Linked DNA regions of Homo sapiens: all the other regions are linked to region 1. Evidence: promoter capture Hi-C in human tissues and cell types (Jung and others, 2019). All regions are on one chromosome and are shown on one strand. Each heading gives the region's core, a stretch centred on a gene start or on the middle of the fragment in contact. The rest is flanking DNA. Distances are from core to core; before and after follow the strand shown. Region 1 holds the start of ZNF181 (zinc finger protein 181). Region 2 overlaps LINC01838 (long intergenic non-protein coding RNA 1838). Region 3 has its middle 71 kb from the start of WTIP. Region 4 has its middle 47 kb from the start of WTIP.

The links. Contacts are between HindIII fragments. The study calls those that stand out against the background at their distance.
Region 2: a contact is called between a fragment that was not itself captured here and the fragment with the promoter of ZNF181 in region 1, in 2 of the 25 tissues and cell types used here (liver and mesenchymal stem cells).
Region 3: a contact is called between a fragment that was not itself captured here and the fragment with the promoter of ZNF181 in region 1, in 2 of the 25 tissues and cell types used here (mesendoderm cells and thymus).
Region 4: a fragment that was not itself captured here is called in contact with the fragment with the promoter of ZNF181 in region 1 in 1 of the 25 tissues and cell types used here (mesendoderm cells).

The regions. Positions count from the first base shown.
Region 1 is chr19:34,732,975-34,735,674 of GRCh38, forward strand. ZNF181 (zinc finger protein 181) reads left to right here and starts at 1,269. Exons shown (of 4, transcript NM_001029997.4): 1 at 1,269-2,072. The coding sequence starts at 2,064. RefSeq lists enhancers at 117-176, 394-911, 632-1,021 and silencers at 1,302-1,351, 1,452-1,511. The HindIII fragment of the contact is 5,149 bases long and covers 1-2,700 here.
Region 2 is chr19:34,905,771-34,908,470 of GRCh38, forward strand. LINC01838 (long intergenic non-protein coding RNA 1838) reads left to right here. Exons shown (of 2, transcript NR_146451.1): 1 at 1-454; 2 at 1,672-2,421. Among named protein-coding and RNA genes, the nearest start is that of LINC01838, 1.8 kb to the left of the region's middle. RefSeq lists an enhancer at 1-97. The HindIII fragment of the contact is 3,568 bases long and covers 1-2,700 here.
Region 3 is chr19:34,551,837-34,554,536 of GRCh38, forward strand. It overlaps the pseudogene ZNF807P. Among named protein-coding and RNA genes, the nearest start is that of WTIP, 71 kb to the left of the region's middle. The HindIII fragment of the contact is 5,625 bases long and covers 1-2,700 here.
Region 4 is chr19:34,526,932-34,529,631 of GRCh38, forward strand. No RefSeq gene overlaps it. Among named protein-coding and RNA genes, the nearest start is that of WTIP, 47 kb to the left of the region's middle. The HindIII fragment of the contact is 3,863 bases long and covers 1-2,700 here.

The DNA.
Region 1 (2,700 bases), core at 19-2,518:
CCACCTGTAGCTGTGGGCGTGGGAGGGAGACAGAGCGCTCTGGCGGCCAGAGAAGGAAGGAAGATGGAGGGAGGGCGGACTTCTGCTCCCTGACGCTGCTGCTAGGCCCCCTGCGGCCCTCCTGGAGCCCACACCTTTCAGCTGCAGTCTCCCAGCCTTCGTCCCCAGGACGAAGCCCACTAAGCCAGTGCTTTTCCACTGCAGCTGGCTGTTCCGCTTGGGGAGGGTTCCCAGATTGTGCAAAGTGAGGAAGGGTCCCCTGTCCCTGCCCCGCAGGGCCCCCACTCCAGGCCTCCCCCATCTCTCCCTGTCTCTCTCAGAGGTAGAGGCAGCATTAAATTAAAATTTAATTAAAATATTAAAAATAAAGTAAAAAATTCAAATATACAACAGTAGACTGTCTGGCTTGCATACAAAGAAGGCCATTGCCCCTTTGGGTGAGCCGGGCAAGGTCAGGGTCTAAGAAGCGCCTCTGGTGAGAAGCGGTTGTCAGGCTCTGATGGCTGCGGGAGGAGTGACTCCTCCCAGGATGAGGGTCTGTGTCCTCTCAGTGCTCACTCAAGTTCCGTATTTCCAAGTCCTTCCAGGGGGCGTAACGCACGTGAGAACTGCCATTTCTGTCACAGATACGTGGCCGCATGCATTTCCAGGAAATGTCCTTGGTTCGCGAACTACAGCTGGCACAATCCAGCCCAGGGCGTTCTGTGAGCTGTAGTCTCCAGCAAGTGAATTCCAAAAAAACCTCAAAGACCTCAAAGACCATACAGGGTGGACAGCGTAGTAGCAGGGTTTGGGAAGAGAGGAGCTCTTTTGCTAGCAAAGGCGAGAGCTCGCCTGGTACAAGGTCTGCCCACGTCCCGGGAGATAAACATTAGTGTGAGCGCACGCTAGACCCAGAAGAGTTTGCCACGGCCGCACGGTTTTCTGGGAAGTGTAGTTTCTTGGTCCCGGCGCCATTGTCCTTAAAAGTAGAGGGTGGCCCTTGGTTCCGAGGTGTATCTTTCACCTCATCAGTATGACTATATGCCCCAGGACACTTCCCGCATGGTCCTAACTGCCGGGCTCTGGGACGACAGCCCCAGGCGGTTTAGTTTTTTAGGAAACCGAGATCTGTTTGCCCGCGGCGCCCCAGGTCCGCGCGGCCGCAGAGACTCCTGGGAAGTGTGGTCTTCCGGTACCTGCGGTTCGTTGCGCCTGGAATTTTGTCCCCTGCGCGGATGATTCTGGGAAATGTCGATCGGCTGTGGGCGGCGCACTGGGTCCGCCCCGCTGTAGCCTCAGGCCTGACGGCGACTCCCAGGCTCCGGGACGATTCTGGGCAGTGTCGTCCCCAGAGGTCGGCGGCCGTTGCCCGCTCACCAGCGACGCGGGGCGCCTGCGGGGACGGTGAGGCCCTGCTGAGGACTCCGGCCAGTATGAGTCCCGGGGGCGGCGGCGGGGCTCAGGCCCTGGGTCTGCCCCGCGGTGTGACCCCGGCCGGTGCCTTGGTTTTCCTGGCCTTCATGTCCTCCTATGTAAACGCGGGGTGATGACGGCGCCGACCTCTTGGCGCTGTTGTGAGAGTGAAGTGGGCGCGTGGTTAGACGCCAGCCACAGTTGTCTTTGGGTTATGTCGTCATGAAGCCGGCGCTCTACAGTTGTGTAACCTTGAACAAATGGGTTCAGTATCTTGGAATTTCAGTTTTGTCATCGTTTAAAAAATAGATCTGGAAAAATGTGAACGCACACCGTGCATAGTGGTGAAGACTGAACGAGCTGATAAAGTTTTTACCATTGTTTTATGAGGATTTTATTTACAGAGTAATTGATTTTCCTCGCAGGTGGCACCTGGTAAATGGTTAGCCCTTGCGGAGAAACACCCTGTTAGTTCCCAGGGAGAGATTGGCGCCCTGGAGAGTGATTACCAGTGTGCCTTTCCATTATGGTGTGTCACAGGTGCCGCAAGATAAGCCTGATTTTTCATGACTGCTTTTTCCTGCCCTTCTGTGCCCTCAGGACACTGCCCATCTCTAAGATAAGAGCCTGGAAAGAGGACTCTGTTGGCTGTTGGAAATTGCAGAGTAATGCCTCAGGTAGGTCGGTGTGTCCGCAAATCTTCCTGAAACACTTTATCAGGACTGTGTGTTTGCTTTGCTTCTCCTGCCTGTTCCCACCTAACCAAGTCCATTTAAGGGACTGGATCCATGGTTCCTTTCAGTATAGGAAGGACGGAGCCCACAGGAGAGCTCCAAGGTATTATCCTCCTCACCCAGTGTTCCTCTTTTCTACAGTTTTCTGCTAGAAGACTTTCTAGTCTTGCCAACATTTTAAAACTGTAATTCACAATGCAACTTTGGAATGTAAGGTTATTCGGTTTATGGTTGTCAAAACTGTACCATGTGGTCTCAAGTGAAGAGATGCTTGCAGTCATCCTTGATTCTTCCCTTTGACTTATACCTATATTCAGATCCTCTAGTTGGAGCTAAGCTATACACTGTATACAGAATCTGACCATTAGTTACCCCAGCACTACCACCACCACTACCACCCCGGTAGTGATAGCAATAAAGCCACCTGGATTATTGCGGTAGCCTCCTAGCTGGATTCCCTGCATCTGCCCTTAACCCTCATCAGTCTGTTCTCAGTACAGCTGTGACCGTGGTCCTATTGTTACATAAATTCCTGTCATTCCTCAACCTATAATTTTTCAGTGGCTCTAAC
Region 2 (2,700 bases), core at 81-2,580, 170 kb after region 1:
AGACTGAGATGAGGACCCTAGGAGACAGCAGCCAGGGATAGCGAAGGTGGAGGATGAGTATAAATAGCGACCCCAGCGCGATCAGAGAAGCTCCCTTACCCCCACCCATCGCAGTGGGAGTGAGTCTTCAGATCTACCCCCAAGACAACGAAATCCTACCCGGGCCATTGAAGGGAAACCTCCACTCCAACCCCCAGAAGACGCCTTAGATGAGAAAGTGAAGAGATATTGTATGAGCTCATTCATCAAAGGCCATGCCATCACCAGCTCAGGCAGTGCTGCTAGGGGATTCCTGCCTCTCTGGAGGTCCAGTTCTCTCTGAAGACAGAGAAGATGCAGGGAGGAAGGGTTTCAAACAGGAACTCTCAACCCACGTCTGCCAGTTGTAGACTCTGTAAACAAAGTTCCAACTCGCCCGCTGCTGCCACTGCCGCTGCTATTTTTTGAGGTCAAGGTGAGCTGCCCAAACTCTCCTAAGCTTTTTTGTATAGTCGTTGGAGAAGATGTAGGCTTGAAGAAGAAAGCAGAGCCCCAGTCTAACCACATGTTCTTAGAAGATAAAGCCAAGGCCCCTTCAGATAGCAGTGCAGTGCCCCTCAGCCTGCCCCTTCTTTCTTCCTGCTTGTTGCAGAGATGGCAGGCACCCCACCCTTGGCCATTTTCACCTTGTAGTTTGCTGATACTACCATGTTACCAGCCACTGACTTGGCTGTCCTGTCTTCCAGGCCCCCAGTCCCTTCTGCCCCTGTACCAGTCCTCACCCCATATACAGATCATTAAATGAAATGCCCATATCCTAACTCTCCTTTTTTTTTTTTTCCTATTCTTGTTGTTTCTCCCCTTAGGTTCAATATCATTTTGGGAGTTCCCCTTTATGGGAATAAAAGCCATTTCCATTTCAGTCCCTCATCTGCAGATTTTTTTGGGGGGTGGTGGGGCAGGGTCCTGCTCTGTCACCCAGGTTGTAACGTAGTGGTGCAATCATGGCTCACTGCCGCCTAAAACTCCTGGGCTCAAGCAATCCTCCCACCTCGGCCTCCAGAGCAGCTAGGACTACAGGCATTTTTTTCTTCTAGAGATGGAGTCTTGCTATGTTGCCCAGGCTGGTCTGGAACTCCTGCTTTTGAGTGATCCTTCTGCATCAGCCTCTCAAAAGTGCTGGGATTACAGATGTAAGCCACCATACCCAGCCCAGATCTCTACTTTTTTTTTTTTTTTTTTTTTTGAGACGGAGTCTCGCACTGTCACCAGGCTGGAGTGCAGTGGTGCGAACTTGGCTCACTGCAACCTCCACCTCCCGGGTTCAAGTGATTCTCCTGCCTCAGCCTCCAGAGCAGCTGGGACTACAGGCATGTGCCACCATGCCCAGCTAATTTTTGTATTTTTAGTAGAGACGAGGCTTCACCATGTTGGCCAGGATGGTCTCTATCTCCTGACCTCGTTATCTGCCTGCCTCGGCCTCCCAAAGTGCTGAGATTACAGGTGTGAGCCACCACGCCTGGCCTAGATCTCTACTTTTGACCTCACCACATCTCCTAACCCCTTGGCCTTTGCTTCAAGTCTACCTCCTGCAGAATTGAGTCATCTATCAGTTTAGTAATCTAATCAGAATCTATCTAGTCATCTAATCAGAATTGAGTCATTGTGGATTTTTCTCCCTTTTTCTTACAGACTCTTCCACCTGTATGCCCATCTTCATAGACCGGCCCATCACTGGTGCCTCAAGCATTTTCACTATCACAGCCAGTAATCTGCAGACTCAACCTCAAGCCTACTTTGTACTTTGGTATAAACTGCATGGATACCAATCCCTTTTCACAGGTTTTCATCTCCTGGTCTCCCATAGGATCCAGGATGAGTATCCTCCCATTTGACCAGTTCCATCCCAGTATGGAGCAGATATCCCTTGTAAAGAACACAGTCTCCACCAGCCCACCTGCTTTTATGGTCAACAGCCCTACCTGAATTTCCAACATTGCCTTTTGACCCAAGAAACACCTATCACCTGAAATCTAGGGTTCCAGACAGGCATCAACAGGAAACCACTCTCTTCAATGCCCTGTCTTTTCTGGCCCACCTACCACTGCTTCTGCAGTCACCTCCACTATAGTAAGCAGACCCTCTTCAGACTTGGCATCCAAGCCTGCCTTTTACTCTGATGAAATCAACATGGATACCATGCCCATTTCCCCATCTGTTATCTTCCTGTCTCTCCCTGCAATGTTAACAGCTGTTTCCCTTTGAAGAACCTGGCAGCCCCCAGAAATCCTTCCTACTTAACCTCTACTGCAGCCCTGGAACCCAATGACAGCACCACTCAGGCAGCTTTTGGGAATTTGACTCCCCCATGTCCACCTTTGGCATCTGCTATGGTTTGAATGTGTCAACCAAATTTCGTGTATTAAAAACTCAATCCCCAAATTCATATGTAAATATGTTTGAAGGTGGGGGCCTTTGGGAGGTAATGAGGATTAGATAAAGTCATCAGGGTGGACCCCTATGATGGGACTGGTAAAAGGAAGAGACACCTGAGCTGACAGGCTCTTGCTCTTGCCATGTGATGTGCTCCACCATGTAACGACATAGCAAGAAGGTCTTCACCAGATGCCAGCACTGTGCTCTTGATTTGCTATCAGAGAGGATAGTGCCATACCTCTGGTTGGAGACAGATGACTTCAATACAAAGCTTATGACCTCAGT
Region 3 (2,700 bases), core at 187-2,686, 180 kb before region 1:
ATTTGCTGTGTCTCCAGTTTGGGGGGGCATTGCTTTGCCCTATGGCCTCGATACTCTGATGGATCTAAGAAGAGTTACTGATTTTCAGTTTGTTCAACTTTTTGTTGTTTTGAGGACGGGAGTAACAAGCTCTTTAGATGTTGGAGTGGAAACCACAAATATATATATATGTACTATTTCTCATTATCAAGTTTTATTTCCCCCATTCTTTTGTCAAAACAAATGTTGGATAGTTATAAAAGCTTTACAGCATATTTGTCCACTAATTTCATCATTTTCATCATTTTTGTGCTTCTCAATTCACTCTTCTGGTTAATGATTTTTATGTCACTACTTCTTTGTGTGCATGGTTATTCTTTATTGGATGCCAGATACTGAATTTTACATTATTGAATGTTGTATTTGTTTGTATTGCTTTAAACAATGTTGGACCTTGGTATGCCATTCAATAAAATTACTTAGCAGCATGATTTCCTCTTGCCTGCTTGGCACTAGGTCTTTCTGTTTTAAACTTTTTTAGTATAAGACCAGAGCAGCCTTGAGTCTGTCAGCCCCGTTCTTTAGGTGATACCTTTCTATCTGGTGTTTTCTGTACTAATAGGTGTTCCACACTGGCAGGTGAACATACAATTCCCAGCCCTGGATGAGCTCAAATAATTGTTTGGGATATTGCTTTGTAGGGGTTCCTTTCTAAACCTCAGGTAGTGTCTGGTCATGCTTGTGCAGATCGGGACTTAGCCAAAGATTTACATGGATACTTCTGCAAATCTTTGCCTCTCTCCTCTCTCCTATTATCCCACCTAAATTATACCCATGGTGGTCACCATATATACTTATTTTTCTTCTACACTGTAAGCAGGAATAATTGTAGGGCTCACGTGTTGTAACCTAGTGAGTTACAGAGAAACACCACACTCTGAGACGAATTCAGGTGTCCTTTATTAGCCAGCGACTGAGAGATGGCTAGTGCTCAAAATTCTCTAGGCCCCAAAGAAGGGGCTAGATTTTCTTTTTTACTTTGGTTTAGAAAGGAGAGGGGGGGAGTCTAGTTAAAACAATCTTACAGAAGTAAAGCAGGCAAAAAGTTATAAGGATAAATGGTTACAGGAAAGCAAACAGTTCCAGGTGCAGGGGCTTTAAATCTATCACAGGGTGACAGATGCGGGGCTTTGGGTGTTATCAACCAGATGAATTCCTAGGAACTGCGGATATAGCTTTCCACAGTATCTTATCAGTTAATTGCATCCTTGGATGTGTTGGGAATCTGCTTGCACAAGTCAAGTCAAGTCCTTGAGGAAGGGAGTGGGTAAGGGGCTGTAAGTGAAGGAGCCAAGATGGAGTCTGTCTGGCTCTCTCAGCTAAGGGAGAGTCAATTCAGGTTAAAACAAGGTTGGGTATCACATTCCCCACTTGTGTTTTTGGGGAATCAAACCATTGATTCCTCGGTTATAACCAGGGGGTTATATTGGGTTTTAAGGTACATAAGCTTGACAGAAGCTATATGTTGTTTTACAAAATTAAGAAACCAATTTAACATACAAGGCTCAAAGACTAAGCCTAACAATAGGGGAGAAAGGGTCCAGCTAACCCAGTGATTAGAGTAGTTAGCAATGGATTCCAGTTAAACATGCTTTGGTACCAGGGGGTGTTATTTTCTCGTTCTTGCTGGTGCCTGTCTAGGTTTTCTCAAACTTTTTGGAGAGTATCTTTTATGACTCCAGACTGATTGGCACAGAAGCAACAACTCTCTCCTAGAGTGGCACATAACCCTCCTTGGGAGAGAAATAGCAGATCTAAGCCTCGGCGGTTTTGAAGAACTACTTCAGCTAGAGATTTTACTTGGGTATGTAGTATATTTATGGCTGATTGGAGATTGCTTAAATCAGCATCTACTTGTTGAGACAGGGACATTAGTCCAGTTTCTCCCTGAACCAGGGCAGCCATGCTGATGGCTGCTGATCCAGCTATGCTAAGGCCAGCCAGGAGGGGTACAAGGAGTGGGGTGGCTCGGCAAAACCTGGGATGTAATTCAGGGGGAGCAATAAGAAGTTATCCTTCTGGCCCACTATACACGTAGACCTGGGGGAGTACATGAACCAACACACACAGGAGAGGTCCTGGTTTAGTTCCATTGATGTGGCAAGTGAGACCTGAAGTGCAGGCTAACCAGGTATTGTTAGGTGCCTGGTAGGAGACTGAGGTGCTTAAGGAGGTAAGCATAGACTGATTACAGGTAGCCTGAAAGGGAGAAGCAGATAAGTTATATCCGGTGCTAATTAGACAAGAAGTGTTTCCAGACGTATCTCCTAATGGGAGGGCATGGGGGCATGTACAACAAGAAAGAGAGCCAATTTTAAGTGCGGCTTCTACTCCTAATCCAATATAATATGGGGGTTTGTCCTTTAGGCACAACCAACAATCTTGGGCTAGTTTAGGCTGGGTGAGATTGAGGAGGTGATGTACCCCACCTAGAATGGACATCAGGCTGGGTTGGAGGTGCTGTCATTGCAGGTGAGGTTTGGGGACCAGGAATGGCAGTGGGACAGTTAAATCAACCTTGTCTGGATGTTTTGGGAACATAAGGTCATCTAAATCAGTTAAAGGCCTGATTGGCTTAGGAGGGCTCCATGAGACGAGGATTTTTTTTGGATGGTGAACATAGTTCCAACATCAAATCCCGGGATATAAAGCCTTAATCCC
Region 4 (2,700 bases), core at 76-2,575, 210 kb before region 1:
ATACAGTCACCCTACAATCCTATAGAACACTAGAACTTATTCCTCCTATCTAGCTGCACTTTTGTATCCATCCATCAATCTTTGGCTATATTCCCACCTCCCCCAACTCTTTCTTGCCTCAAGTAACCCTTAGTCTACACTCTCCTTCTATGAGAGCAACTTTTTAACCTTCCACATGTGAGTGAGAACATACAGTATTTATCTTTCTGTGTCTTGGCTTCTTTTGCTTAACACAATGACTCCAAGCTCATTTATGTTGCTGCAAATGACAGCATTTTATTCTTTTTCATAGCTAGATCATATTCCATTGTGTATTTATACCATATGTTCTTCATTTGTTCACATGTTCATGGACACTTAGGTTGATTCCATGTTTTGTCCATTGTGAACAGTGTTGCAATAAACATGAGAGTGCAGATACCTCTTTGATATACTGACTTCCTTTTGTCTGGATGTGTACCCAGTAATGGGATTGCTTGACCATATATGGTAAATCTATTTTTAGTTTTTTGAGGAACCCCCCATAGTGTTTTTCCTCATGGCTGTAATAATTTACGTTCCCACAAACAGCATACAAGAGTTCTCTTTTCTTTGCTTTCTCACTAGCATTTGGTATCTTTTGTCTTTGTCATAGTAGCCATTTTAACTGGGATGAGATGATATCTGAATGTGATTTTGATGTGCATATCCTGTATGATAAGTGATGTTGAGCATTTTAAAAATATTAGTTGGCCATATGTATGTCATCTTTTGAGAGATGTTTATTCAGCTAATTTGTCCATTTCTTTTTCTTTTTTTTTTTTGAGATAGAGTTTCACTCTTGTTGCCCAGGCTGGAGTGCAATGGTGCAATCTTGGCTCACTGCAACCTCTGCCTCCCAGGTTCAAGTGATTCTCCTGCCTCAGCCTCCCGAGTAGCTGGGATTACAGGCACGGGCCACCACGCCCAGCTAATTTTATATTTTTAGTAGAGGCATGGTTTCACCATGTTGGCCAGGCTGGTCTTGAACTCCTGACCTCAGGTGATCCATCCACCTGAGCCTCCCAAAGTGCTGGGATTACAGGCATGAGCCACTGCACCTGGCCAAGTTGTCCATTTTTACATCAGATTATTTGTATTTTTTTTGACATTGAATTGTTCAAGTTTCTCATATATTGTGGATATTAATCCCTTGTTGAATGAATAGTTTGCAGTTTTCTTCCCATTCTGCAAGTTGTCTCTTGTCTCTGTTGATTGTTTTCTTTGCTGTGCAGGAGCTTTTTAGTTTAATGTAATCCAATTAGCCTATTTTTGCTTTTGTTTCCTGTGCTTTCAAGTTCTTCACCACAAAATCTTTGCCCAGATCAATGTCTTGAAGCATTTCCCCTGCTTTCTTCGAGTAGTTCCATAGTTTCAGCTCTTAATTTAAGTCTGTAAGCTATTTTGAGTTGATTTTATTAATATGGTGAGATATAGGGGTCTAGTTTCATTTTTCGGCATACAGATATTTAATGTTCCAGGCATCATTCATTCAAGTTTTTTTTTCTCTTGCCTAATTGCTCTAGCTAGGACTTCCAGTACTATGTCAAATAAAAGTGGTGACAGGCCAGGCACGGTGGCTCATGCCTGTAATCCCAGCACTTTGGGAGGCCAAGGCAGGCAGATCACGATGTTAGGTGATTGAGATCATCCTGGCTAACATGGTGAAACCCCGTCTCTACTAAAAATACAAAAAATTAGCTGGGTGTGGTGGCACATGCCTGTAATCCCAGCTACTCTGGAGGCTGAGGCAGGAGAATCGCTTGAACCCGGGAGGCGGAGGTTGCAGTGCGCCGAGATCGTGCCACTGCACTCCAGCCTGGGTGACAGAGCGAGACTCCATCTCAAAAATAAATAAATAAATAAATAAAAGTGGTGATAATGGACGTTCTTGCCTTGTTTCAAATCAATACATGTAACACATCACATCAACAGAATGAGTACAAGAACCATATGATTATCTCAGTAGGTGCAGAAAAAGCGTGATAAAATTCAACAGCCCTTTATAGTAAAAACTCTTAAGAAGCTGGGTATAGAAGGAATGTAGCCCAGTACAATAAATCAGTGTATGGCAAACCCACAGCCAACATCATAGTGAATAGGGAAAAGTACAAAGCTCTTCCAGGAAATGTAAAGAACCAATAAATGTTCTTGCTGCCTTTGTTGAAAATCAGTTGGTTGTAAATGCTTGGACGTACTTCTGAGTTGTCTATTTAGTTTCACTGGTCTGTGTGTCTGTTTTTATGCCAGTACTATGCTGTTTTGTTTACTCTAACTTTGTAGCCTATTTTTAAGTCAAGTCATGCTATGCCTCCAGCTTTGTTCTTTTTGCTCAGGATTGCTTTGGATGCTCAGAGTCGTTTGTGGTTTCATATAAATTTCAGGATTATTTTTTATATTTCTGTGACAATATCATTGATATTTTGATAGGGATTGCATTGAATCTGCAGATCATTTTTGGCAACATGGTCATTTTCACAATAGTGATCCTTCCAATTATGAGCATGGAATATCTTTTCATGTTTTAGTGTCCTCTTCAATTGGTTTCCTCAGTATTTTATAGTTTTTTTGGTGGAGGTCTTCCACCTCCTTTGTTATAGTTATTCTGAAGCTTTTTTTTTGGTAGCTGTTTTATACGAGATTGCTCTTTAATTTCTTTCTTTTCTAATTTGTTGTTGATGT